Linked DNA regions of Homo sapiens: regions 1, 2, 4, 5 and 6 are each linked to region 3. The links are contacts of gene promoters, found by promoter capture Hi-C in blood cells and fetal thymus (Javierre and others, 2016). All regions are on one chromosome and are shown on one strand. The core of a region is centred on a gene start or on the middle of the fragment in contact, and the rest is flanking DNA. Distances in the headings are between cores, read along the strand shown.

Evidence for each region. The method cuts DNA at HindIII sites, captures the fragments that hold promoters and counts their contacts. A CHiCAGO score of 5 or more calls a contact.
Region 1: a fragment that was not itself captured here is called in contact with the fragment with the promoter of FBXW2 in region 3 in 8 of 17 cell types (total CD4 T cells, fetal thymus, naive CD4 T cells and 5 more); the score reaches 9.6 in total CD4 T cells.
Region 2: a fragment that was not itself captured here is called in contact with the fragment with the promoter of FBXW2 in region 3 in 2 of 17 cell types (total B cells and naive B cells); the score reaches 5.9 in total B cells.
Region 4: a contact is called between a fragment that was not itself captured here and the fragment with the promoter of FBXW2 in region 3, in 3 of 17 cell types (naive CD4 T cells, total CD4 T cells and non-activated CD4 T cells). The highest score is 6.2, in naive CD4 T cells.
Region 5: a fragment that was not itself captured here is called in contact with the fragment with the promoter of FBXW2 in region 3 in 5 of 17 cell types (total CD8 T cells, naive CD8 T cells, non-activated CD4 T cells and 2 more); the score reaches 7.2 in total CD8 T cells.
Region 6: a contact is called between a fragment that was not itself captured here and the fragment with the promoter of FBXW2 in region 3, in 12 of 17 cell types (total CD4 T cells, naive CD4 T cells, naive CD8 T cells and 9 more). The highest score is 14.0, in total CD4 T cells.

What each region holds. Positions count from the first base shown.
Region 1 is chr9:121,201,254-121,205,193 of GRCh38, reverse strand. It overlaps RAB14 (RAB14, member RAS oncogene family), which reads left to right and starts at 3,325. Exons shown (of 8, transcript NM_016322.4): 1 at 3,325-3,555. It also overlaps a transcript of GSN not described here and the pseudogene RN7SL181P. RefSeq lists enhancers at 2,744-2,903, 3,174-3,393, 3,212-3,711 and silencers at 3,404-3,873, 3,894-3,940. The HindIII fragment of the contact is 7,258 bases long and covers 1-3,940 here.
Region 2 is chr9:121,263,852-121,267,496 of GRCh38, reverse strand. It overlaps a transcript of GSN not described here. Among named protein-coding and RNA genes, the nearest start is that of GSN, 2.5 kb to the left of the region's middle. The HindIII fragment of the contact is 6,397 bases long and covers 1-3,645 here.
Region 3 is chr9:120,791,721-120,795,382 of GRCh38, reverse strand. FBXW2 (F-box and WD repeat domain containing 2) reads left to right here and starts at 1,967. Exons shown (of 8, transcript NM_012164.4): 1 at 1,967-2,029; 2 at 2,126-2,234. B3GALT9 (beta-1,3-galactosyltransferase 9) reads right to left here and starts at 1,916. Exons shown (of 3, transcript NM_001386823.1): 1 at 1,461-1,916. RefSeq lists enhancers at 954-1,043, 1,474-1,573, 1,636-2,266. The HindIII fragment of the contact is 2,176 bases long and covers 618-2,793 here.
Region 4 is chr9:121,094,858-121,098,654 of GRCh38, reverse strand. CNTRL (centriolin) reads right to left here. Exons shown (of 44, transcript NM_007018.6): 5 at 3,637-3,767; 6 at 2,092-2,233; 7 at 83-269. Among named protein-coding and RNA genes, the nearest start is that of CNTRL, 22 kb to the right of the region's middle. The HindIII fragment of the contact is 686 bases long and covers 2,196-2,881 here.
Region 5 is chr9:121,162,093-121,165,579 of GRCh38, reverse strand. CNTRL (centriolin) reads right to left here. Exons shown (of 44, transcript NM_007018.6): 34 at 3,309-3,487; 35 at 480-637. Among named protein-coding and RNA genes, the nearest start is that of RAB14, 38 kb to the left of the region's middle. The HindIII fragment of the contact is 3,394 bases long and covers 1-3,289 here.
Region 6 is chr9:121,048,147-121,052,109 of GRCh38, reverse strand. It overlaps C5 (complement C5), which reads left to right and starts at 1,835. Exons shown (of 41, transcript NM_001735.3): 1 at 1,835-1,928. The coding sequence starts at 1,864. The HindIII fragment of the contact is 2,865 bases long and covers 1,050-3,914 here.

The DNA of each region.
Region 1 (3,940 bases), core at 969-3,468, 410 kb before region 3:
ATGGGGTTGGAAATGGGGAATAGGTGAGGGAGTAGTGGAGTGGAGGTAGAAGTTGGTCAAGAGCTGACTTCTTCAACAACTGCTCTTCAAATTCCCTGCTAGAAGGTAGCTGGCCCCAGCCACTGGCAGTTTTTTCAGTGTAGAATGTGAGCTCCTTGTGGGCTTTTTATTTTCAAGTTTGGGCTTCAGCAACAGATCCAGGACAATAGGAAGAGATGTATACATGGAATAAACCCCTCTCAATGTCTAGTTACATAAACATACATGTCTTCTTTGCCCTCCTCTTATAGTTTAACAAATGTTGGCATACTATTTAGTTTTCTGCACCTTGCTTTTTTCCCTCCAAGTATTTCCTAGACATTGTTCCATATCAGGACATATACATGGGCCTCATTCTTTTTGATGGCTGCATAGTATTTCACAATATAGATGTACTATAATTTACTATTACAGCTTTCTAGTGATAGACATTTAGTTTGTCTCTAGTTTTTTGTTATTACAAACAGTGCTGCAGTGACTATTCCATGTATACATCTCTTCTTATAGAAACAACTTTTTAAAAAAGTTAAGTAGAAACCCCAATGGATGTTTGGCACCCAATGGACAGTCCCTCTTAATTATGCTGCAACTGGTCACATACACTCTCCTCACTTTGAAAATTCTGGGACTTATTAAAAGAATTGACCATTCCTACTGTTTTTTAATTGCATTCCTTAGCATGTGATAGGCACTCTGCATCCACAAGAGTGTTTCTGTTCAAAGCTGCATCAAAGTGTAATGTCTTTCACATAGGAAAGCAGCAGTTAGGGACCTGCATTTAAGCTGGCTATTGTGAAACAAGAGCAAATAAGGGAGGAAATGGAATAGGGCTTAGTACAGCCCTGAGGTCACATGTTGCCAGATTTAAGTCCCACCCAATTTTCACCTAAACGACTTTAGATCTGTATGACACTCAGTTTTTTCATTCATAAAATGGGGTAAATATAGTACTGACTTCATGCGGATGTGGTAAGGATTAAATGAGAAAATATGCATGATTCTTAGGACAGTTGCTGGTACATAGTAAGTGTTGAATAAACATCAGCTATACATAAAGATCTCCCTTCAGGTGATAATGGCTATAAGGAAACTTACTAGCCAGGTCTAAGTTCATACCTGGGCAATTAATGATCATTGGTTCACAGTTTTCTCCTTTACTTGGCACAGGCAAATTTCTTAGTTTCAAAAATGTTAAAGTGTGACAACAAACTATACTTATTAAAGAATGTGGAAATAGAAGCCTAGACCTCTAGGGTTGCAAAAGGATTTCAATATCACCTTAGATTAGATTATCATGTAATAATCATTTCCATTTCTTATTATATACCAGATATTTTGCATATACTATCCCATTTAATTTTCACAAAGACCTATTTGAGAGAGATATTACTATTTTCATATTGCAGAAAAGACTGACAATCTCAGAAATCAAGTGACATGCACAACTGCATACCATTAGATTATAGAGCAGGAATTCGAACCCAGGTCTCTGAAAATATGAGATGTACAAACTGGCACACACTTTTACAGTGAAATCTCACTTGTTCATGGCAGAACCAGTTCATAAAAGGTCCTGAACGCTAAGAGAAAGATTGATTTAATTTGGGGGTGGGGAACTAAGGCAGGGCCACCTTATCCATTAGGCACAGTACAGTATGCACAGGGCTTAGGGCCTCCAATACTTTTAGGGGCCAACAAAAATGAATATTTATTTATTTTAGAGACAGGGTCTCCCCATGTTGCCCAGGCTGGAGTGCAGTGGCTGTTCACAGGTATGATCCCATTACTGATCAGCACGGGAGTTTTGACCTGCTCCATCTCCGACCTGGGCCGGTTCATCCCTCCTTAGGCAACCTGGGTGGTCCCTCCCTCCTGAACTTAAGTGCAGACACTCTATCTAGTGACACAGTGCACTACAGCCCAGAACTCCTGGGCTCAAGCGATCCTCTCTCCTCAGCCTCCCCAGTAGCTAGGATTACAGGCGCAGACTACCAGCCCTCCTTGCTTACGTTCCTTTTTTTTTTTTTTTTGAGACAGTCTCGCTCTGTTGCCCAGGCTGGAGCGCAGTGGCGCGATCTCGGCTCACTGCAAGCTCCGCCTCCCGGGTTCACGCCGTTCTCTTGCCTCAGCCTCCCGAGTAGCTGGGACTACAGGCGCCCGCCACCACGCCCGGCTAATTTTTTTGTATTTTTAGTAGAGACGGGGTTTCACCGTGTTAGCCAAGATGGTCTCGATCTCCTGACCTCGTGATCCGCCCGTCGTGGCCTCCCAAAGTGCTGGGATTACAGGCGTGAGCCACCGCGCCCGGCCGGCTTACATTCTTTTAAAGTCAGAAGAAAAAAATGAACTTTCAGGTCAGAGAAAATATTTTGTTATATAATATTGATACGTCATGTTTATATCAATGCAGTTGTAAAATATGTTAAATATTTATACATATATTTAACTTACATGTGTGTGAAATATATGTGTGTGTGTAATGTACAAGCCACAAGGCAAAAGTGCTCAGGGTCCAAGAAAGTCAAAACGTGTCCCTGCACCCGAAAAGCACGAAACCTTCTGGGGCAGTGATTATGGCAGAGCAAGTTGGAAGATGGCAGGTGGTAGACAAATTGTGAAAAATATCACATTTCTCTCACCCTGTCAAAGGCAACCCCAAAGTGAAGTCAAAATAGAGATGAAATGCAGGGTCACTTCCTAGCTGCGTGATCTTGGACAAGAGAGTTGACCAACCTGAGCCTCAGTTTCTCCATGGATACAATGGGGATGCGTGCCTCCGACGTTTGTTGGACAGGACCGGTATATACGAAGCATACAGCGGTATATACAGTAAATGCCCCCATAAATACACGTTGAATGAATGCAGTAAATGCATGCTTAGCATGGTGGCCAGTATACGGTAAGCGTCCAATAAGTGGTAAATGTTGGCTTTAAAAATTGTTCAAAAGTCTCCACGAGCGACAACCCTAGTTCTCCAAGACGCAGGCGCACCCCACCAGGTTCCACGCAGACCTGCGCAGTAGCTCCCCCAAGAGGCGAGGACACGCGACTGCGCTTGCGCATACGCGCTTTCCACCTTCCCTCCGGGCGCGAGCGCCCGTGGGGCGGGCCTCAGCGGCGGCGCGACAAGTCCAGAGGTGAGGGCTGAGGAAGGGGCGTGGCTAGCGGGCTGGCCTCAGCCACCCTCTTCCGGGCTCCGCCAGCTGCGCGCGCATCTTCTCCCCCTTCTTTTGTGGTCCGGCCCATTGCGAGGGTGACAGGAAACCCTGTGCAGGGAGCGCCGCCATCTTGGACCAGCCCGAGGAAGATACTGAGGGAGCACAGGAGCAGTCACCGCTGCCACTGCTACTGCCGCTACTGCTGCCGGCGCGTCTGCACCTCTCGGCCTGCCAGTGTACCTGCCGGCGCCTCGGTCGACCGCCCCCGCCCCCTCTCCCGCTGCGTCCGCACTCCTGTTCCTGGTCCTGACGCCCCCCTCCCGCCCGGAAAGCTGCCCAGCCACCAGCAACCCCCCAGGTAACCCGGGCCTTCCGTAGTGTCCGGCCGGCTGATACCTCCTCGCGCCGGGTTCTTCAGAGGGGCGTGTGTGGGGACGGTGGAGACTGGGCCGCAGGCGGGCGGCGCCCCGGGGCCAGGCCCCGTCAGGCCGTGGCTAGCCCGTGGGTCGGCGGTGAGCGCCGCGGCGCCGGCCTGACAGGACTCCTGGGCGGGGGCGGAGGTGTCCCCTGCGCGGCTCCGGCCTGAGCCTCCTGCCCTCCCCAACCGGCGGGGCGCTCCGAGGCGTGCAGGGAAGGGTGTGTTCCGGCCTCGCCTTCCCCGCCTTCTCGGCGCGGCTGGGCAGGACCGCATCTCCCGCGGGCCCCCCTCTCGCCGCTGTTCCCCGCGGCCGCAGCCCGCCCCC
Region 2 (3,645 bases), core at 641-3,140, 470 kb before region 3:
AAATGGGCATCCTGAATTGCCGCTTCATGGGGCGGTTGAGAAGACTCAGTGAGAAAAAGACTCTCAGCACAATGACAGGGACCGTGGCTTCTGCATAAACGGAAGGGATGTTCTTATTAGTGTCATGGCAGATACTGTTTTAGGAGATTGAGGAAATCCACATTGGGTAGAAAGATGAGTGCAAGGTCAATTTTAAGCAAATGTAATACTTTGTTGATTTCAACAACATCTCATATGCATTTGAGACGATAGCCGTTTATAATGCAGCAAGGCATAAGACGGCCTCCCAGCAGTCCTGGTGCACACATGAGTTCCCAGGACTTTTGGAGTTGCCGCGTGACTCCGGTTTGGAAGGATTCACACACTCCACAGGAGACTGCACCACATGACAGAGATGTCCATTCCCAGCCTGGGTGCTGGCAGCAGCCCCATGTTCAGCCAGGGTAAAGCTCCCTCTTAACACAAGGTAAAATGTACTAGAGTCAGTAATTGCCGGGTGCTGGGGATCAGAGCAGAAAAGGCTGTTGTTTAAGTAGCACAGAAGCCAAGAGCACAGTGCTCACTCCCTGGTTTTTCCATTGAATAGCAGCCAGGGAAGCCACAGGACCCAGGGAATCTCACCCTGGCTCTTCCTCCTGCCATTCTCTCTTTGTTCAACACCAGTAAATACAAGAACCATTTCTTGAATGCCTCATGCCATGCTCTGGGCTTCCCACGTATTACCGACTTTAATTCTCACCTCCCTACCTGGCCTCCTAAGGGAGGCATTACCATGTGTATTTTTCAGATGAGCAGGCCAAGCCCACAGAAAGGGTTAAGTACTCTCTGGAGGTCACACTACTGATACTGTGCAGTCTACTCTTCTATGCCTGAGTCCTTGGCCCTCGCTTCTTTGCTCAATGTCTTATGTCACACTCTGCCACCTTTCCTGGCTTGGGAAATTCTGCCCAGTTCCACTTTCTCTGAGAATACAAGCAAGGTATCCACCCCGCAGGGAGGCTCACACCATCTCTGCTACTCTCTGCTTTCTCCAGAGGCTGCCTGGGGCCCAATGCAAGGCTGCTGGGGAGAAAAGCAAAAACACAGGCTTATTTGGCTCTGGAATCTTTGATTACAAGCCCCGGCATACACATGCCTTGGAATTATCTAACATATCATTTCCAGCCCCAGCAACTGCTCTCAGACAAAGGGAGGTGGAACTCTGAATCTGTGTCCCCATAGAACTGGAGAATACCACATCACGATGGAGGAAACATTGGAGAATGTCTGCTCCAACTCCTCCCTTTAGAGATGGAGAAACTGAGGCCAGGAGAGCAAAAGGGTTCACATTCTAAGCTAGATCTAAGGTTCCATATTCTAAGCTGGGTCAGATGCCTACCCATAACCCTGTAATTGCTCCATTTGGTGGCTGGAGAGGAACATGGGAACAGGGTATCACCAGGAATCATTAGAAATGATAATGAAGATAATGATGATGATGATTGATTGATGATGATTGTGATGATGATAACCAATACTTACATGGGAGTGCTCCTCTAGGAACACTTCTAGAAATCTCCTGGTGCTTTGCTTTATGACTCAACATGTGTATTTTATAGCTGGCAGGATATATCAAGTCTGCCTTTCATGGATGCCTAGAAGTCTTCTTGGTATCCTGTCTTCATTCCTTTCTAGATACCTCTTTGTACTTCTCCCCCCATTGGATCTAGGTAAGGTAAGGCCTGTTTGTCCTGGATCCTCACCTCAGAGTGAATGTCTTGCTGATAAGGATCTCCTCTGATGGAAGAACTTTGATATCTTCTTTTGCCAGAAGACCACCTCCTTCCCAGAGTGAGGCTGGGGAGAAATGAAGGCCACACACAGGCCAGGCATTAGACAATCTGGGGGTACCTGCTCTCTCCTCTGAGAACGCCTCTTCCCACCCAAGGGGATGGCCCTCACTTGCACCCAGGTTTGTACTGTAACCTTCCCCCACAACACAGTTGACAGCATGAGGAGTGGACGGCAGAAAAAAGCTGGACTATTAGAATTTGGAGCTGGAAGTTGAGACATGACAATCATGGTTAATTAACTGGGTCTGTGAGGACCAATGATCTCTGAAGGCCAAGGCTGCCATTTTGAGGTGGCCATCTTCCATCGTATTCACAGAGAAAGCCAATGAGGCTCGTTAAATGACTAGAAGGGTGTCGCAAAACTCACAGAGGAGATGCCTGGGCTGGGCAGCCCAGGAGGCTTCAGGGTTCAGGGGCTCTTCTGATTACAGACCTCTCCTGGAGCTGGCTTCAGAAAGAGAAGTTATCAGCACAAGTATTTGTTGAGCATCGAATGCCTTGTAGTTTGTCCCTAGAAGCAGAGGATGAGACAGGGATTTCATACAAGGGATTACTTGAGAGAGCACTCTCAGGAGATCCTGAAATATCCCATGGAACACTAGGGCAGGGGTGCAGCTGGGCCTCAGGATCAGACCACAAGCAGGACCTGAGTACTAAAGGGAACCCAGAAAGTACTCTCTCCCCCATCTTTCATCTCTGCCTGTCTGCTCACATCACACAAGCATTTCTGCTTTCCAGAAAATGGCTTTTACCAGCAGCAAGCTGGAATCTTTGTTTGTAGTCCACATTCTAAGTTGGATCAGATGCCTACCCTTTATCTAATTAACTCTGGCCCGAGTGACAGGGTCCTACTGCACAAACCTGGCTGCTCCCACTGTAACCTGTGGGTGGAGGGGGTGCACTTCCCAGAGAAAAGGGGAGGGGAAGCCAAGCAGAGACAACGGCTTGGATTCAGTCAGCCTTGAAAGGATGGAAAGAATAAGAGTGGAGGTGAGGAAGGGAACAGCATCTTCTGCTAAGAGCACAGAATAAGCAAAGGTGTGGAGGTCAGAGAAAGACAGAGCTGGAAGAAGGAAAGGAGACTGTTATTTTCTCCAGCCTCGGTCCCCTTTAGTGTTGTGCTAGTGTTGTGTTCTTAAGAACTGATTTAGTGTGTTTAGTGTTGTTTTCTTACGAACTGATTGCTCAATTTCCATGAATTTTTGTGGATTTTTTTGAGACAAGATTTCACTGTCACCCAGGCTGGAGTCAGTGGCACAAACATGGCTTCCTGCAGCCTTGACCTCTGGGCTCAAGCAATCCTCCTGCCTTAGCCTCCCAAGTAGGTGGGACCACAGGTACATCCCACCAGGCCTGGCTAATTTTTATGTTATTTGTAGAGATGAAGTCTCTCTATGTTACCAGACTGGTCTTAAACTTTTGGGCTCAAGAGATCCTCCCACCTCAGCCTTTGAAAGTGCTGGGATTATAGGAGTAAGCCATCACACCTGGCCAAATTTCCATGCATTCTTACACCCAGCTGTATTAAGGCTGTATTAAGCACAGCCTTCAATAACAATCTATATAAACTTATAATTAAGTAAATTATAAATTGATATGGTCTGGCTCTGTGTTCCCACCCAAATCTCATCTCGAATTGTAATCCCCATAATCCCCATGTGTCAAGGAAGGAATCTGGTGGAAGGGAGGTGATTGGATCATGGGGGCAGTTTCCCCCATGCCGTTCTCATGATGGTGAGTTCTCATGAGACCTGATTTTTTTTTTTTTTTTTTTTTGAGATGGAGTTTCCCTCTCGTTCCTAGGCTGGAGTGC
Region 3 (3,662 bases), core at 718-3,217:
TTTGTTATGAGAGGTCCAAACAATATTATCTCTGGGGCAGCTCCATCTGGACTTTTCAATTTGATTCATCAAACTGTACTGGGGTTGAGAATGTTTGCTCCAAAGAGATATGGGTGCTTGATTTTCTTGATTACCCTGGTACTGCCTTCCCTTTCATAGAGAGTATCCAATCTGTATATCTGTCTTCCTAAATGTCTTATAATGCTGTGATCAGTCACGTTCTGACTTAGAAGTCTAGAGTGACATCCTGTTGCTTAGCAAATCAAATTTGCTCTCTTGAGACCTTACTTTTAGGACACCGTAGTTGACTTCCACCCCACATAATCAATTTTTATTTCCCATGTTTCAAGTACCCTAAATGAAGTCAGGATGCTTGGAACCTTGGCCATGCTCTACCATCTACTGGATATGTGTCTCTCTTATTGTCTATATTATTGGACTGTGCTATCAAGCATGGTAGCCATTAGCCTCATGTGGCTATTAAATTAAAATTAAATAAAATTAAGAATTTAGTTCATTTACATCAGGTACTTTTCAAATGTTCAGTAGCCACAAGAGACTAGTGACTGCCTTATTGGACAGCACCAACAGAACAACTCCATCACTGGCAAAAAGCTTATTGGACAGTGTTGGTATAAGATGTATGTGAATGTGCGTGTATGCATGTATGGCTTAGGAACCCTTACAGAGAAACAAGGATAACTTGTGCGCTGGGCATTGTGGTTCACCCCTGTAATCCCAGCACTTTTTGGGAGGCCCAGGCAGGTGGATCACTTGAGCCTAGGAGTTCAAGACCAGCCTGGGTAACATAGCGAAACCCTGACTCTACAAAAATACACACACACACACACACACACACACACACACACACACACAACTAGCTGGGCATGGTGACACGCGCCTGTGGTCCCTTCTACTCAGGAGGCTGAGGTGGGAGGATCGCTTGAGCCTGGAGAAGTCGAGGCTGCAGTGAGCCAAGATCGTGTCACTGTACTCCAGCCTGGGCGACAGAGTGATACGTTGCCTCAAAAAAAAAAAAAGGATAACTTGTGCTCTGAAGTCGGTTTGGGTTGAAATCCTATGACAGCCATTTACTATGACCTTAGGCAAGATGCCTAAACCTCTTTTGATTTCAGTTTCCCCATCTCTAAAAAGGGGCCTAATAATAGTTACTAGCTTGTGGGGTTGTTGTGGGAACTGAGTGAGATGGTACACAAAAAATGTTGAGAAAGAGTGCGTGGGATTTTTTAGCTCAGTTTTAGTTCTTGACGCCAAAAGGTTTGCATGCTTCATTTCCTTCAATCCTCAGAGCCTTCGGATGGGGACCTCACTATAATTGCTATGCAGATGAAGCAAAGTCTGAGAGGTTAAGTAACCGGGCCACAGCCAGAGTGTAAACGTTGTGATTCATTCAAATCTACATCACTTGACTGTCTCTTTTCATTCAACAACCTCCTTACCTTGCTTTATTTTTCTCCTTTGCACGAGCCTTAGTTTATCTGTCTTCCTCCTCCTAATAGATGTAAGGCCCAGGCGGTCAGGGGCTTTTGCGTTTTTTGTTCACTAACCCTATCCCCTAGAACAGCGTTCGGGATAAAGAGGTGCCCAACAGGTTGTATGAATTTGGACACGTCTCTTAACTTCTCTAAGCCACAGCTCCCTCTCCTCCGTAAAATGAGGATAATAAGAAAAACTACTGCAGAGCTGGTGCAAGATCAGATTGGAGGAGGGACATAAGCGCGCTGTGCAAACCTGGATGTACGGTACGAAAGGAACCTCCGTTCTAGGTTGCACCCAGCCTAAGCACCGTGAGGGCCGCGCGGCACGCGTTCAGCTTCCCGGGACGCTCTTCTCCCCACCCCTACTCCCGGCCTCCAGCCTCCCACCACCCACCTCCGGGCGGGGACCGGAAGTGCAGCCGCTTCCGCCGGGAGCCGCGGAGCTGAGGGACGCGCGGAGATGACGCAGGCAGCACCGGAAGCCGCTCCCCTGTGAGGCTGCGGACCGGGAGCAGCGGCCGCAGGTCCGGGTCTGTATGCGAGGCGGGGCCGGTCGGGGAGGGGACTCTTAGGCGCCCGCGGCTCTGCTGACCCGCCGCGCCTTGGCTGTTTTTCTTTCCCTGCAGGCGCCATGGCTGCGGAGCGGACCCGGCCGCTGCAAGGCTCTGGCGGTCCGAGCGTGCCTAGTAGCTGTGAACCCGGCGCGAGGTCCCGGGCCCCGGGGCGCTCGCTCAGGTCAGTGCCGCGCGGAACACGATTCCGAGAGCAAGGGACCTGGGAGCAACGAATGGGTTGATGGGATCTGGATTTTAGAGACGGGAAAACAGGGTTTTGGAGTTACTGCCTCCTACTGCCTCCATTTCCTTAGCTGCGAAATGAGTTAACAGTGATGTCCCAGGGCTACCAAACGTTTGAAAGACGATGAAGTGTGATGAGGTGGTTTATGAAGTACAAAGCGCTATACTGCGCCATAATTGTGGGTATGCCATGAAAACAGGTGTGTATGTGGGGTGCTGCTTGAAGTAAAGCAAAGATAACAATATTAATGCTAAGTAATAATGGTAACTGACATTTACTGTAGGCTTACAGCGTGCCGAGTACTGTGCTAAACGCTTTACTTGCACTGTCTTGTTTAACCCTCATAAAAACCCTTGTAGGTAATGCTCTTGGCTGTATTTTACAAGTGAGGAAACAGGGCATGAGACAGGTGAAGTGATTTGCCCAAGGTCACCCAGCAACAAGTGGAGTTGCAGAACACATATTTTATAAACATTATTTGTATTCTTTCAAAGCTTTAAAAAAATTCACCTTAAAACTAAAGGCTATTTTTTGATAGTATATTATACTTAACATGGTTTTCAGTTTTAAAAGGTATACAATAAAAAGGGACCCCTCATTCCTATTCTGCAGCTCTCCAGTTCTCTCTGGAGGCAACCAGGGTTATCAGTTTCTTGAATATTCAGAATACATTTTATGCATATGTAAGTTTATAGGTGTGTATACATTTTCAGCGCCTCTGTGCTCTTTGTTTGATAAGAAAAGGGGGAAATGAAGCCTCCTTCCCTCTACCACTAACAATTATGTTGCTTTCACTCTTGACTAGGCCAGGTTCTGATAGAGGAGGAGGGGAAAACACATTTACACTGTTTTCCAGAAGGTCCTGTCTCTAATACCTCTGAGTATAGGTTTTGGGAGAATGGGTACTGGGCAAAATATTGAGCCTGCTACTTCCTGTGCCATTCTGGGAAGGCCACTCCACTTCTTGAGCCGTAAATTTCCTCATTAATGTTAGTTAAGGGCGGCATTACTGATACCTTCCATGAGGTTATGAAGATGAAATGAGATAATGTTTACCAGTGGTACTTTTTCTTTAAAACCAATATAAATATGTGAGTTGCCTAGGTAACATAGGGAGTTAATGGCAGAACCTGAGACCAAACCCAGGCTCTCATTTTCCAATTTAGGAGTCTTTTTGTTGCATGACCCACTTTGTGATTATTGATACTGAAGGCAAGAGGGCAAGTTGAATGTTAACTCTGGGGTAGGGACGTAGGGTAAGGGGGCCAAACAGCAGGGAATGTGGGTAGAATAAGGCACCTACTGGGAAACTAGAGCCTCCAATAAACAGGTGCTCTTCTTTATAAAATTAAACCCCTAGTAAGT
Region 4 (3,797 bases), core at 1,289-3,788, 300 kb before region 3:
TTCATGATACATATTTCTAGATAACTTCTGAAAATAAATTCCTCCCTCACCCAAATTTATTATTTTTTAAATTTAATCTTACCTAAACTGAATCTCTCAAAAGCCTCCTGTCTATCCTGAGTGGTTACTGGCTGACCTTCCAAACTTTCCAATGAACGGAGGTGGAAAATGGTAAACTGGAGGTAATGAGGAAGGGTCACAACTGGATTTTCAACTAGGATCAGAGAAATCAAATCTTGAAGCGGTTTCAACTTGCTTATATCTTGGAGCTGAAATGATATAACATTAGTATTGGTATAATTTAATTTAAAAATCATAACATACTTAAAGGAAGTTACAAATCAAGGAAATTTAACATGGCAAGGAATCTATTCATGAAGCCAATTACCCAAAAGTAGTGGTGTCAGGAAAGGGAGTATATGAGTATTTATAGTGTATTTGGGCAGTATTAGGTATTTTCCATACACTATTTCATTTGTGACTCCTCACAACAACTTATCATGTAAGTATCATCTTAATTTTACAGATGAAGAAATTCAGGATCAAAGAAGTTAGGCGACTTGCCCAAAGCTCAAAGCCTTGTAAGTGAATGAAACAGGATTTGAATTCAAGTTTGTGTAACTCTCAACTTTGTCTTTTCATTATACTGATTTAACAAATCAAAAAAATGAATAGTTATAAAAAATATTTTGGTAAATCTTCAGATAACTGTGCTATAATTGACAGTTTATTCAGATAGTTTATTCTCAACCTAAAAAGGCTGAGAAACAGTACTCCAAATAGCTAGTACAAATAAATCTTCTCTCCCAAGTGAATGTGCAGCACTCTTCATAATGCCAATGTCAAATATCAATGGGGTGAGGACATCATACAAAATTAGAAATAAATATTTATTGATTTTCCTATTGCACAGCTGACACTAAGTTGACACTATCTAAGGATCAACTACTTCAGGAATATTTATGGCAAATTTTAGATCTATGGCTACCTCTTCCCATCATCCCATAGCATCAACAGCCCCAAGGTGATGCTGTACAACATGGGGTTGGGCTTGGGCTCTGAGGCTCTTGACTGTCACAGGATGAAATTAGAAAGCATAGGTATTGTTAACAACATGGCATTAAATGAATATTGCTTATTATTATTGGCCTCCACTGGTGAAGGCTTAAAGAATATAGCTTTAGACTTATTTAGTGTTTTAAAGTTTTTTTTAAAGCATTTTCACATCTATCATTTCATCTGAGCCCCCATAATACCCCTGTAAAGGAGGCAGTATAGGGATTGTTTTCCCCAAACAGTGGTTTTAGAGGGATTAAAGAATTCTCCAAGGTCATGGAAGGCAATTCTATAGAGGCCCATCTTTGAAGTCACATCTTTCATTTTCTATTCTACAACTGATGTTCATTAAATTATGGCACAATTTTCCCAATTTTAATACAAATTTAAATAAATTAACAAATTTACTAAGCAAATGCTTATTAAATACCTAGCTGTGAATAAATACCATAAGAAAATCATAAACTATATTCCAGAGAAAAATATACAACATCATCCAAATATGTAAATCATAACAAAGTTGCTCTATTATGAAAAGCTAGTGATCAACCTCCTATAACACCTAACATTATAATCAAAATAAACTGGTAAATTTGAAATTGGAAGTTAATACTGTCAAAAAAAAAAAAACCCAGAACTTTCTTCTAGGCATTCAGTGATCTGGATCCTGGCACAAAATGTGACTCTAGATAAGGGACTTAACCTGTCCTAGACCTTACTTGCTACTACCTAACTCATAGTGTTACAAAAATAATCCTTGTACTGCCTTCTTAACAAGAATGTTATGAGGCTTACATGAAATGATAAATGTAAAAATGCTAAGAGGTCAACCCTAGGTTGACCTAGGAACCCATGCAAAATGAGGACTGCTTGTATTTAATTAATCTAGAAAATCATGGGCTATGTCTGAATCTAGTGTTTAGTCAAAGGAGCAAAATCTTTAAAAGAAGAAATCCCATTTTTAAAAAACTTAGATATTTTTAATCTTTTATTTTTTAACAAGTCTAAAAATTCCTGCTATTTTGAATAACTTACCGATGATATCTTGTTGCCTTTCAAATTGAGGACTCGCAAAGATTTTAACTTCTTCCCTAACCATACTGGAATATGCTCAATTTCATTTCCTGCAAGGTTAAGCTTTTGCAGATTACACATATTTTCTATGCCTTCAATTTTGCTGGAAAGCAAAGGATAAAATAAAATTTAGTGAGTACAATTATAGAGTCTCTCCATTGTATTTTTAGAATAAACAGCTTTAGCTCCATGTTAGATTACTTTTCATAATGATAATTTATCAACTCTTTTCATAAATGAGAACAAAGAAAAGTGGCTAAAGCCAAATTTACCAGAACAGCTAAACTGCCAACTTTTTATTACTATGCCCAGGAATCCTATCAATCTTATTATTAGACTTTGCAACTCCATAACATAGAAAAGAAAAATGTGACCATGGCATTCTCACCGACTACTGTGAACAGTACTAGCAAACAGCCAGTGGAGACCTGGGAAACTCAATAGCACCCTGTCCTATCTGCTACATTCCTGTCCAAAAGATGTTCCTAATTATTGTCTTAAGTTATCATAAAAAGATTAGCTATGCCAGCAGGATATGGGAGCCCATAGATGATACTGTATTTAGGAATATAAGTAATTTAACCAGAACTTTTAAATAAAGCATTTATCACACATATTAATGAATTCTGATTGATGAAGGTTTTTCCCAAGTCACTTCTAATTTATTTGTCAATTTAATTCTTTGGTCAATTTTCTATACTGCACAAATACTTCAAAGCCTCTATCTACACTGGGTAAATATTTCTAAGCTTCTCTACTTTCAATTTTATTTTGCTGAAAATATTTTCATCAGAGTCAACTTTTTATACAAATTTTATAATAAGGGTTTGGTTCATTAATCATTTTTTTTCATTTCAGTTTTGTCATATCAGAACTTCTGCCATTGCTAGTCATTTTCTTGGCCATCATATTTACCAAGTCTAACTTGGGGGAAAAGCATGCAGATATTAAGAATTTCAAGATTTGATTCTTGTATCATTTTGTCTATAACAAGTTTTCTATATGAAGTTTTAGCCAGTGTCAGTTTTAGTATGTTTATTTCTCACAGTAATATATATTATGAATTGGAAACAGGATTGAGAGCATATTTCTTGTAGCAATAAGCAAAGAACATCAGAATCAAAACAGATTAGAACATCTTGGGGGTCAAAATGGCAGGGTTAAAACATTCTGCTTCATGTCAACATTCTTAATGTAATAAGGTAATAAATCACAGACAATATCTGGGAAAACTTCCTGTCAGAAATGAAATTAAGATACAATTTGGTGCTCAAAAATATATCTCTTTGATAATGCTAGATGTTATTCTGTACTTCAGTAATGCCAAAACATAAAGACAGTTACCTACCATATGTGAAGAGACAGACATTCATTTGATTGATGAATAAAGATAAAAATATCTTCTGTTTCTGTCAAATCATTCTTTCAGTAATGTGGATAACATTAATCTACCTCTCTAACAAAGCTATCTGCAATGCTGCCTAAAGATTTTGTTATATAACTCACCTGATTTTGTTATATGATAAGTTGAGTTCACGTAATTTTAACAGCTTGTCCAACTTTTCAATCTTCCCTATTAGATTATAGCTGAGATTCAGTACTTCAAGTTTAACACATTTTTCCAAATTCTCAATATACTAATTGGAAACAAATGAATGAATACTTTA
Region 5 (3,487 bases), core at 343-2,842, 370 kb before region 3:
AGTATATTATTAGCTAGAATTACTCAGCAATTTCTTCTAAATAAATTATCATATTTATAAACATTTGGTAATTTTAAAATCTTCATTATTTACATCTTTGTTTTTGTTTTTCAAACTAGACACACCCCTAGGAAAAATCTGGAAGGATATTCACCAAACTGTTACTAGGAATCTATGAGGAGTGAGGTCAACAGCAATTTTTATTTCTTTTTGCTGTTTTAAAATTGTTCTCTAAGGAACATGAATTAGGTTTTTTTTTTTAACTGACTTTATTGAGATAAAATTCACATATCATGTCCTATTTAAAGTGTACAATTCAAAGGCTTTTAGTATATTCCAAGTTGTGCAAACATTACCACAATCTAATTTTAGAAAGAAACACCATGCTCATTAGCAGGAATTACTTGTCGTAAGAAAAATCAAAGAATCTAACGAAGGGCAAGGAAATCACACACTTTCACTGTTTTGCTGCCTTATACCTTGGAGCTGCTGTTGCATTGCTGAAATGTCGTTATGCAGTGACAACTTGTCTCTGTTTAGTTGGTCTAGTTCCTGCTGCAGTTTTCTGACATTCAATTCCAACTTTTCTAAGTTTGATTGCTCCATTTTGCTATTTTCTTCTGCTGCTGCTAAAACCCTACCACAGAGAGTAAGTCAGACTGTCAAATATACAAGCACACACAGGAGATGACTGAGGAACAGTGTTATCCTTTCACAACATACAGTTATGGAAAGTATAAATGATTATAAATCTTCACAAAATTTAAGACTCAACTCATTTTCAGAATCTTATTATCAGCTTTCTAAGTGGAGACTTTTTTCAAAAACTGACTCACTAAATTGAAGTTTTATAAAAATCATGGATTAAAAACATGGATAACATTCAGAATTCCAAAAATCTGATAAAAATGGAGCTGTGACAATCGAAAGAGTAGAAAACAATTGTGTGTACAGTAGGATCTGTCCATATAGCAGACATGCATGAGCATGTATTGTAGTACATAAAGGGAGTCATACAGTTTGGACTTGCTTTTGGTCTGGCTTCTTTCACTCAACGTAGTTACTTTGAGATTCATCCATGTTGTGTATATCAATACTTCATTCCCTTCTTATTGCTGAGTAGTATTCTACAGTGTGGATATACCACAATTTGTTTATCTATTTACCAGGTGATAGACAATTTGGGTCATTTCTAGTTTTTGGCTATTACAAATAAGGCTGTCATGAACATTAGCATATATACTGTGTAGAAATATGCTTTCATTTCTCTTGAATAAATATAATACCTAGGAGTGGAATGGCTAGATCTTCCGATTGGCGTATGTTTGATTTTTAAGTAACTGTTAAACTGTCTTCCAAAGTTTAACAGTTACTTAATACCATTTTACATGCCCCTCAATCATATATGAAAGTTCCGGCCAGATGCGGTGGCTCATGCCTGCAATCCCAGCACTTTGGGAGGCCGAGGCAGGTGGATCACGAGGTCAGGGGATGGAGACCATCCTGGCTAACATGGTGAAACCCCGTCTCTACTAAAAATACAAAAAATTAGCCAGGCGTGGTGACGGGTGCCTGTAGTCCCAGCTACTCAAGAGGCTGAGGCAGGAGAATGCCGTGAACCCGGAAGGTGGAGCTTGCAGTGAGCCAAGATAGCGCCACTGCACTCCAGCCTGGGCAACAGAGCGAGGCTCCATCTCAAAAAAAAAAAAAAAAAGTTCCTGGTTAATATTAACATTTGGTATGGCTGTTGTTCTAATAGGTGTGTAGTGATATCTCACTGTGGTTTTAATTTGCATTTCTCTAATGATTAATTATCCTGCGTATCTTTTCATGTGTTTATTTGCCATCCATTTATCTTCTGTAATGAAATGTCTATTCAAATCTTTTGCCCATTTAAATAACTGGGTTGTCTTCTTATTGAGTTTTGAGAGTTCTTTATACATGTATTCTGAATACAAGTCCTTTATCAGATACATGGGTTGCAAATATTTTTTTCCCAACCTGTGACATATCTTTTCATTACCTTGTGTCTTTTGAGGAGATGTTTTAAATTTTGAAGTCTAATTTTATCAATTTATTATTTTATGGATCATGCTTTTGGTGTCATACCAAGAATTTTTGCCCACTCCAAGGTCACAAAAGTTTTCTGCTATGTTTTATGTTTTCTTCTAGAAGTTTTATATTTAGGTTTTACATATATGTTTATGGTCCTATATATAAATATAAAATAAATATGTATATATATATATATTTTTTTTTTGAAACAGGGTCTCACTCTGTCACCCTGGCTGGAGTGCAATGGTATCATTATGGCTCACTGCAGCCTCAATCTCCCTGGCTCAAACAATTCTCCCACCTCAGCTTCCCAACCTGGCTATTTTTATTATTATTTTTTTTTTTTTGGCAGAGACAGGGTCTTTCTATGTTGCCTAGGCTGGTCTCAAACTCCTGGGCTCAAGTGATCCTCCTGCCTCGGCCTCCCAAAATGCTGGGATTACTGGCATGAGCCAACGTGCCTGGCCTCATTTTAAATTCATATTTATATATTATACATAGTGAGGTATGAATTGAGATTCTTTTTTTGGTTTTGTATATCCAATTGTTTCAGCCAACATTTTTCTAAAAGACCATCTTTTCTCTACTGAAAAAGATGCCTTTTTATCTTTATCAAAATCAGTTGTTCACATATATGTCAGTTTATTTCTAGACTTTCTATTCTGTTCCATTGATCTATGTGTTTATCTTTACACTAATACCACAGTGTTTTGATTACTACAGGTTTATAAAAGTGTTACAAATCAGGTAGTGTTAGTCCTAAATTTTTGTTCTACTTTCTAAAAGTTGTTTTGGTGTCATACCTAAAAAATTGTATAAATTCTATTCTAGGTCTTAGAATAATTCGATTCTAGGTTCATATAATTTTAGAACCAGCTTGTCAATTTCCACAAGGAAAGGCTATTGAGATTTTAATTGTTAACTGTTTTGAATCTAGAGATCAATTTGAACAGAACTAAATCTTTAACAATGTTGTCTTTTGGTCCATGAACAAGATATATATCTCCATTTATTTCCAGCATGTATCATTTTACTTAAAAAAAACAAAATAGATTTTAAAAAAATGCTTTTGAGCAAAAAAAAAAAAAGCTAGAAGGAAATTCTCCAAAAAAATGCAACTGGCAAAATGTATTATGATACCAAGTTTGTGGTGTATTTTATCTTTTTCTCTATTTTCCAAATTTTTTATAGTGTGTTTATAATGCTTTGGCCTGAAGAAGTGATCCTGCAAGCTTATTTGTTCTTGCTCTCACCTTTTGGTTTGTGCCAACTTTTTTTCCCAAATGTCACATTTCTCTTGGAGATCTTCCTTTTCTTTGCTCAAACACTCAACACACGATTGTAAAGCTCGGGACTCAGCAGTCATTCGTTCTATTTCTCGTTTATCCCTCTCAAGGAGCTGCTTCTGCCACTCTATTTCCCCTTTCTGCTG
Region 6 (3,963 bases), core at 1,233-3,732, 260 kb before region 3:
AATCTATAAATTGTTAAACTTCAGTTCTGTTGAGAATCTTTGAGATCCATCATTCTCTAAATGTTTTCTACCAGAGAAACAGGACAATGGCTTGCAAATATTGGTTATCAGTATTTACTCTATAGCTCAAGCAAACAAACTTATTTGCACTTAAAATACAAATATTACCTACCTTGATTTGAGTGTTGTTGTTCTCTCTTAAATTTCATTTCCCAAAAATGATGGCAAAAGTACTGTTTGTTTTAACTTGACCCATCTTTTGCAACCCAGCTTAATCATTTCACAGATTCCCTTTTGAAATAAATGGGCTAGATGATCAGACAATAGTGGCAAATGTTTGTCATTTCAATGACATATGCAAGAGATACCTTTAGTGAAATTTGTATATCAAATTTCCCTTTGTGCTCCTTTTTTCCCTAGTGAATTCAGCATTAAAGTGTTTATAAATATTTTTGGTTTATTATTTATTAATTCAAAGCAAAGAATGCCAATGTGACCATAAATATCTCATTTATATATCATAAATATCTCATTATAGAAATATGTTTAGAGACATCTGTTTTATTATTTTAAAGAAGAGTACATATTATATATTAAGGTAAAAATAGTACTAAAAAAGAGAAGGTAGTAAATAAAAAAATTCTAATGAACATAAAACATCATAAAAATTAACTTAATTAAAAATCAGCCAGGCACAGTGGCTCATGCCTGTAATCCCAGTACTTTGGGAGGCCAAGGTGGGTGGATCACCTGAGGTCAGGAGTTCGAGACCAGCCTGGCCAACACGGTGAAACCCTACCTCTACTAAAAATACAAAAAATTAGCTGGATGTGATGGGACATGCCTGTAGTCCCAGCTACTTGGGAGGCTGAGGCAGGAGAATGCCTTGAACCTGGGAGGCAGAGGTTGCCCTGAGCCAAGATAGTGCCACTAGACTCCAGCCTGGGCGACAGAAAGAGACTCTGTCTCCAAAAAAAAAAAAAAAAGTATAAAGATAAAATTTTAGTATATTGTGAATTAATTACTAGACTCAATTGTTATAGGAAGCTTTGTTTTTCTGGAGCTCTTATATTAAAATTATTAAAATCCTCACTGAAAAGTATAACATGTGTTTTCTTTAAAAGAAAGATATTCTATATCTGAATAAAGACAAACTTTGAACGAGTGGTATATGCCTTAATAAATATTGGAGAATATCTATTCTCCAATACTTAGAGAATGACGACAGCATCCTCCACATGGCGTTTTCATTGCCAGTCACAACTTTCCTCCACCTAGTGTTCTCTAGACTGAGACAGACCAAGGAACAATTCCCTAGACCTCCTTTGCAGAGCTAGGTTATGCTCAGACCATTTGCAGCACCAAGGACACTGCCATTCAGGTCACCAAAAAAAGATCATCTTGTGAGCCCTGTCTAAACCAGGCCCCTTCTAAAATCATTTCAGTGTGAAACTGAGTCCAGGTGGGTCTTCATCAGTATTAGAGTGGACCTGCCAGATGTATGCTTGCAGATGATGCAACATCAAAGCAAATGCCCTGGGCAAGAGAAGAAAGGCCAAAGCAATGGGCTTACTGGTTTCTAGCTTTGAGCCACTCTTCATAGTGCCAAATTCCCATTTTAGGGTCCCTTTATTTGTATTAATAAAAATAAATTCCCTGGGTGTAAGTTCCTGTAAAGTACTCCCTATCTGTATTCCTGGGCATGAAAGGGTGTTTTAGTTCCAATTCTAGTTTTCCCACTTAGAGGTTCACCTTTCTGACATTAATAATTAACCAGATTATCTGAATTCTTCAAGTTCAGTTTATTTAAAAGGAGACTATCCTCAAAAGTGTTATATCCGTGGTTTCCTGCTACCTCCAACCATGGGCCTTTTGGGAATACTTTGTTTTTTAATCTTCCTGGGGAAAACCTGGGGACAGGAGCAAACGTAAGTAAAACAAGCTATCTTCATTTTTCAATGCATCTTAGTTATGACGAATGAAGAGTTAAATTTAACAGATTCTGTTAACTTGAAAATAACTTGCTACTTCTGAGAACAGCAAGTGAATAGTATCATCTCTGAATGAGAAAGTCATGGAAGCATTTTGATTTGATGAGTAGCTAACAACATGACAGCTTTTATGGAATTGTTATTTATTAAAATTTACGTTAAGTGATTATTCAAATTCCTCTTCAAAAAAGCACAAAAGAAACTCCAGATAATAAACTTTCTTGACATTTTTTGCTTATTTTAACTTGGTGTTTAGTTTTCTTTGTGTTTTTCATAGACTATACACAGTTAAACCAGGGTTATTTAGGAGTCAATCTAATACTGTGATCTGAAAATCTGTTGTTGTAGTGACTTCTACCATACATTTATGAGCTGACTTTTCACAATTTTTAGTGTCATTATTGAGATAATATGCATTTTAAGTAATGTTTTAAAAATAATGATCTTATATCTAGAAATATTTTAATACTGAAAAGTAACTGCAGATCATCTAATCAAACCTATTCATTTTATATATGAGAATAAGTCCAGATAAGGGAAGTGACTGACCAAAGGTCACAGTTCTAGAGAGAGAGAAACAGGATTTTTATTAAGGTCTCCTGTTTATCACTTCAATTTTTTTCATTTTGTCATAAATGTATACATGTAAATATATTATATATAAACACATACTTAGGATGTCATTCTTTTTTAGCACCCTCGTATTTCTGATCTGTGATCTTTTTACATGGCCACAAGCACTCAACTACCTTAGCATCCTGCCTTTATTCTTTTTGAAAGACGAGCAGCTAAGGCTTAGAGAGACTGAAATTAAGTGACTTCAAATTGGTGGCAGAACTAGGGCTAGGACCTGGGTTCCATGATTCTTGTCCAGACTTATTCTGAATTCTTTCTACTAGCCCTTAATAAAAATTATTTCCTCACTTTCTCTGAAGAAGTCAGAGTGTACCATTTACAACATGGCAATCAATCACTTTAATTAATTGGTTGATTGATTGATTCAACAAATATTTATTGAGCATCTAAACATATGATAGGCACTGCAGATATAGCAAACGGTAAGACAATTCCTAGAGCTTGCATTCTAGTGGGAGAAGCAAGTAATGAATGAATGAACCAATGAAAGAATGTGTAAGGTCAGGTAGGTAGTATTATGAAGAAAAAAATAAAGCAGAGTATGAGAATTAAAAAATAATTATGGGGCACTATTTTAAAATGTGGCCAGGAAAGGTTCTCTTAAGGAGGCTGCACTCAAACAGAGCCTGAAGGAAGTGAGGAAGCAAACCATGCAAATATTTGAGGAAAGAGCATTCCAGATAGAGGCCAAAATAACATTCTTGCCTCTCTGCAAGCTCCTGCTCCTCTGCAGCAATTGAAAGACAAAGAAAACTATGAAATTATTTATATGGATAGATTATGCTACTGATAAGTCAATAAGAACCAAAATCTTTATAAAGGGTGGTTCCAGAATATTCTTTTAGGGGCTTCTAAACACTATGTATTTTTGCTTGACGGCTACCATCACATAGACCAGCAGTCCCCAACCATTTTGGCACTAGGGACAGGTTTTGTGGAAGACAATGTTTCCATGGACCAGGATTGGGGTGGGGATGGTTTCAGAATGAAACTGTTCCACTTCAGATCATCAGGCATTATATTCTCATAAGGAGCTTGCAATCTAGATCCCTCGCATGTGCGGTTCACAATAGAGTTCATGCTCCTAGGAGAATCTAATGCCACCACTGATCTGACAGGAGGCAGAGCTCAGGTGGTAATGCTCCTTTGCCCCACTGCTCACCTCCTGCTGTGTAGCCTGGTTCCTAACAAGCCATGGACTGGTATTTGTCCATGGCCCAGGGGTTGGGGACCCCTACCATACACAATTCAAAATTAAAGCAATACTAAACTTAAAAACATAAAGCTTCTATAAATACTGAAATTAAAGTAGCTTTATATCCCTAAATTTTTCTAA